2 separate regions of the Homo sapiens genome follow, and region 1 is linked to region 2. The links are contacts of gene promoters, found by promoter capture Hi-C in blood cells and fetal thymus (Javierre and others, 2016). All regions are on one chromosome and are shown on one strand. The core of a region is centred on a gene start or on the middle of the fragment in contact, and the rest is flanking DNA. Distances in the headings are between cores, read along the strand shown. Region 1 overlaps TMEM178B (transmembrane protein 178B). Region 2 holds the start of AGK (acylglycerol kinase).

The links. The method cuts DNA at HindIII sites, captures the fragments that hold promoters and counts their contacts. A CHiCAGO score of 5 or more calls a contact.
Region 1: a contact is called between a fragment that was not itself captured here and the fragment with the promoter of AGK in region 2, in 1 of 17 cell types (endothelial precursors). The highest score is 6.5, in endothelial precursors.

Annotation. Positions count from the first base shown.
Region 1 is chr7:141,078,693-141,081,392 of GRCh38, forward strand. The region is part of intron 1 of TMEM178B (transmembrane protein 178B); the gene reads left to right. Among named protein-coding and RNA genes, the nearest start is that of TMEM178B, 6.0 kb to the left of the region's middle. The HindIII fragment of the contact is 644 bases long and covers 956-1,599 here.
Region 2 is chr7:141,550,021-141,552,720 of GRCh38, forward strand. AGK (acylglycerol kinase) reads left to right here and starts at 1,390. Exons shown (of 16, transcript NM_018238.4): 1 at 1,390-1,414. AGK-DT (AGK divergent transcript) reads right to left here and starts at 1,324. Exons shown (of 6, transcript NR_183408.1): 1 at 1,124-1,324. RefSeq lists silencers at 1,185-1,274, 1,455-1,634. The HindIII fragment of the contact is 2,342 bases long and covers 1-2,092 here.

The DNA of each region.
Region 1 (2,700 bases), core at 28-2,527, 470 kb before region 2:
TTAGGGAAAGTTGTCCTGAGGAAATGAAATCTGAACAAGATGTTTGATAAGGTTTGGAGGTGGATGTGGAGGAAGGATATTTCAGGCAATGGGCCAGCATATGCACAGCCATAGAGGTGTGGAACAGCAGTTTGGCCTTGTGAGTGTTGATTTCTGGGGCAAGGAGAAGGAGCAGACCAGGAGCTGGAGAGCAGCCATGGACCAAGTCAGGGAGCTCGTATATCAAATCCCCTACAGCTATGCTGCCCAGTTGGGGAGCCACAACCCACATGTGGCTGTTCAAGTTAACAATAACCAAAGTTAAATAAAATAGGCTGGGCACAGTGGTTCACGCCTGTAATCCCAGCACTTTGGGAGGCCGAGGCAGGTGAATCACTTGAGTTCAGGAGTTCGAGACCAGCCTCGCCAACATGGTGAAAACCCATCTCTAGTAAAAATACAAAAATTAGCTGGGCATGGTGGTGTGTGTCTGTAATGCCAGCTACTCAGGAGGCTGAGGCAGGAGAATCGCTTGAACCTAGGAGGTAGAGGTTGCGGTGATCTGGTATCATGCCGTTGCACTCCAGCCTGGGTGACAGAGCGAGACTCTGTCTCAAAAAACAAACAAACAAAAATTATTTCCGTAGTTGTATTGGCCACATTTCAAATGTTCAGTAGCCGTATGTGCCTACTGGCTATTGTATGGGACAGTGCAGATTACAGTGAACATTCCCACCATCGGAGAAAATTCTGTTGGACAGCGCCACGCAGAGCCTATAGCCTCTAAAAGAACCAAGCACATAACTTTGTTTCAGATGAGTATAATTCCATGATAACTTGGGTTTAAATTTAAGTATATCATTCTACACTTTAAGAAACTGCTACTTGAATATATTGGGCAGAAGGCTTTAGTTCATGGTCAATTATAGTAAATTTATATTTTAATTTTCTATCATCAACTCACAGAATTCTCACAAGCTTCTCCCTTCTTCCCTCCTGCCCTCTCCATCTCCATTAAACATCACTTGCAAAGTTGGTGGGGTGGGAAAGAGATTAATGATAATTATAGCCAATCTTGATGACAGGTCTCTCCTAAAAGTTTTATATGTATTAGCTAATTTATTGTTCATAATAACCCTAGGAAGTATAAGTATTATTTTAAATTCTCATCCTAAATTTGAGGGAACTGAGGCACAGAAAGGTCAGATAACTTGTGAATTCTCACAGTTAGTTAGGAAACAAAGGTGTCAGAATTTGAATTCTGGCTCTGGATGTGGGAACTCACCCACCACACTCTACCATCATCTTAGAATCTATCGGGGCAGGAGTGAGGTGGAGAAGAAACTGGGATATTGATTCCACAAATTGAGAATAAAAAGGAAATAATACTCTTGGAATCTCAATTCTAAATTGAAGTAATGAGAGTGGCTCACACACCCTGTTTTGAAGCTCACTGACCAAAGTGCATACACATTTTGTCATATAACTTTTGCTTATTTACTTCGCTTGCTGTGGTAGATGCTGAAATTATAGACATGAAGGACACATTCATTCATTCAACAAGTATTTATTGAGGGCCTTTGGGCTGTGCATCAGGTACAGTGTTGGACCAAATGGAGAAGCTTACATTCCAGAGGGGAGAGACGGACAATAAATAAATACTCCACGGCTGGGCACGGTGGCGCACGCCTGTAATCCCAGAATTTTGGGAGGCTGAGGAGGGCGGATTACGAGGTCAAGAGATTGAGACCATCCTGGCCAACATGGTTGAAACCCTGTGTCTACAGAAAATACAAAAATTAGCTGGGTGTGGTGGCGCATGCCTGTAATCCCAGCTACTCGAGAGGCTGAGGCAGGAGAATGGCTTGAATCCAGGAAGCGGAGGTTGCAGTGAGCCGAGATCGTGCTACTGCACCCCAGCCTGGGTGATAGAGCGAGACTCCATCTGAAGAAAAATAGTCATAGAGTAAAAATAATATCTAATATATGAATCGTGTAATATAGCACAGGGTAATGGGCACCATGAAGGTCTGCCCTTACGAAGCGCAAAGGGGAAGAATGACAAGTAAGGCAAAAATGAAATGCAGTCATGTGCCCTGTAACATTTTGGTTAAAGACAGACTGCAGTGGTCTCATAAGGTTATCATGGAGCTGAAAAATTCTTATGGCCTAGTGACATCATAGATGTCACAGTGCAGCAACCCATTACTCCTGTGTTTGGGTTGAGGCTGGTGTAAACAAAGCTACTGCACTGCCGGCGGTATAGAAGTCTAGCACAAACAATTATGTACAGTATGTAATACTTGATAATAAAATGACTGTTACTGGTTTATATATTTACTATGCTATACTTCTAATCATTGTTTTAGAGTGTACTCCTTCTGCTTATAAAAAAAAGTTAACTGTAAAACAGCCCCAGGTGGGTCCTTCAGGAGGTATTCCAGAAGAAGGCATTGTTATCAGGAGGTGACAGCTCCATGTGCACCATTGCCCCTGAAGACTTTCCAGTGGGCTAAAATGTGGAGGTGGAAGACAGCGAGATTGATGATCCCAACCCTCTGCAGGCTTAGGCTAATGTGTGTGTGTGTGTGTCTTAGTTTTTAACAAAAACGTTTCAAAAGTTGAAAAATAAAAAATTTTATAAACAGAAAAAAGCTTATAGGATAAGGATATAAAGAAAGAGCCTGGGTGCAGTGGCTCACACCTGTAATCCCAGCACTT
Region 2 (2,700 bases), core at 140-2,639:
AGGTCCCCGCCCCGGCCTTTTTTTTTTGAAGCATTCACCTAGGGAGACATAGGTAGGATGCATGTCTACACGTAGGAAATGTGCAGACTAGATAGCAAGCTCCATGGGGCAGGAACCATGAAGGGCCTTGTACCTGAGCATACCCCCAGTGCCTGATGCAGGGCCTAGTGCACACTCAAATGTTGGTTGACTGGCCGGGTGCGATGGCTCATGCCTATAATCGTAGCACTTTGGGAGGCCAAGGCGGGCAGATCGCTTGAGGTCAGGAGTTCGAGACCAGCCTGGCCAACGTGACAAAACCCCCGTCTTTACTAAAAATACAAAAAAATTTAGCTGGGCCTGGTGGCACACACCTGTAATCCCAGTTACTCGGGAGGCTGAGGCACAAGAATTGCTTGAACCCGGGAAGCAGAGGCTGCAGTGAGCTGAGATTGCACCACTGCACTAGCGCCTGAGCCACAGAGTGAGACCCTGTCTAAAAAAAAAAAAAAGTTGGCAGACTGAATGCTGGAAAGAAGAAGGACCTGGCTTTGTCCCCACACCAATCTGGTGGGCGAGTACAGAATGTAAACTGTCTGGAGGTTGGCATTGGCCTAGCTTCTCCGTTGCTCTCTTGTTCTCTAGAATCCAATCAAGCACCTGTGGCCAGAGAGCTGTGTGAAATGGAAACCAGTCCCACCAGCCCCTGATTGCACCCCCGCAATGTCTTCTCGCCCTGTTTAATGTCATGTCCAAACTCCTGGCCGCCGTGGCCTGTCTCCACCTCTCCAGCTTCCTCGCTTGGCCTGTCTCCTTAGCTCTCTCTGTCTCACCCACACTGGCCTGCAACTCGCCAGAGTGCCCCAGGCTTTTCAGCTTTTGCACGGGCCCTTCCCTCTCCAGGCTCTCTCCCCTGGATCTTTGCTTCAGCTGCTCCTTCTTGACATCCAGGTCTCAGACCAATGGCCCCTTACTCAGAAGGCCTAGCGCAGGCCGCCTAATTTCACACAGTTCTCCCCCTTCCCGCACTGCCTTCCATCACCTCGTTTCATTTTCTTCGTGGCACGGAGCACCATCTCCAATGGCCTTGTTCATTTAGTTAATTTATTTTCCGACTTAGTTCCAGGTGCTAAAACAGTGTTACCTTGGCAGGCTTCCCATCAAATATTGTTGCGCAAAGGATGGATGGATGAAAGGAAGAGTGAGCCAATAAACGAGGGAACGCCGGGAAAGGCAGCCTCAAGCCGGTGGGCCCTGCCACCCCCACCGTCCCTGAGCATCCGAGCCGGTTCCCGCCCCCGGCCCGAACTGGCCCGCGCGCGCTCGCAGCCCCGCGGCGGAACCCGAGGGCGGCGGCAGCGGTTTCCCTTGAACGAGCCGGGGAATCTGGAGGGAGCACACAGGAAAGGCAGAGCCGCGAGCTGGACCAGCCGTGGTGAGTGCAGCGGCGCCCAGGCGGGGAGCGCAGTGCGGGTCGCTGGGACTGAGCGCGCGAGCGGGGTGGGAGTCGGGATGGGGGCCCGGGGCGCTGGGCGGAGCCTCTGGAGTCGCGCTGGGCCGAGAGCCGCGGGGACCCAAGCATCAGGGGTCGTGGGTGCAGGCGGCGGCGCGGCTTGAGGGTAGGGGGTGCGGGCCTGGCCGGCGCGGCAGGGGAGGGCCTCGCGCGGATCCCGTGGTCACGGCGGGAGTCAGCTGTCCTGGGTTCGAGTCCCAGAGCTGTCGCTAACTTGTGGACCCCCCTCACTTCGTCCCTTGGGCTTCAGCATAGCCCTTTGCAAAATGGGGCCAATAGTATCAGATCCATTGATGGGTTGGTTGGTTCATTCATTCTGGCGCTTTACTAGGTTCTGGTGCTGCAGATGGATAGACGAACTTGCCCATGAGGGGTTCACTATCTAGTAAGAAAAACATTTCCACCTGGATACTCCACAGGCGTGTCAAATTCAGTATCTCCTAAACCGCACTACTTTTCTCCACAAACCTACCACTCAAATCTAAATGACTGAAATCACTATTCAACCAGTCACCCAAGCACAAAAACCTGGCTTGGTTCCTCCTCTCTCACTTACTACAGTCAATGGACCACCAACTGCTGCCAATTTCTACTTTCTAAAGCTTTCCAAATCCATCCTTTATCTTGGTTTGTTCTTTTAGGAGCCTACAGATTATGGCAATAACTTCCTAATGGTTCTCTTTAGCTTTAATTTTAGCTTCTTCCAGTTCATTTTTCATTCTGCTATAAAGTGGTCTTTTAACAGTTCAAATATGATTATATCACTCACCTGCTTAAAGCCCATTAAAGGTTTTTCATTGTCTTCAAAATAATAGCCAAAGTCCTTAGTGTGGGTTCAAGGTCTTTTCTAATCCCACCTGGTCTTCAATCCTTTATCTCTAAACCACTGTTTCTCAAAGTCTGGTATAGTGGTGACCTCCATTGCAACCAACATGGGAGTACTTGTTAACAAGTGAAGATGACAGCTTAATTCCAGAACAAATGAGACTCTTGCGGGAAGGGGCAGTTCCCAGGATTCTGTGTTTTTAACAAGTTCTGCACTAAAGGTTGAGAACCCCTGTTCTAGACACTCCAATTTTTACTCCGCTGTTGATGAGATTCAGGACACACTGCCGCAAAATATGACTCGTTGGCATTAGAGGAAACAACTGAAGCAGGAAAGTCACTTTGTGTCTTCCCACTTTTCTCCCCTGAAGCAGGCCATAAAA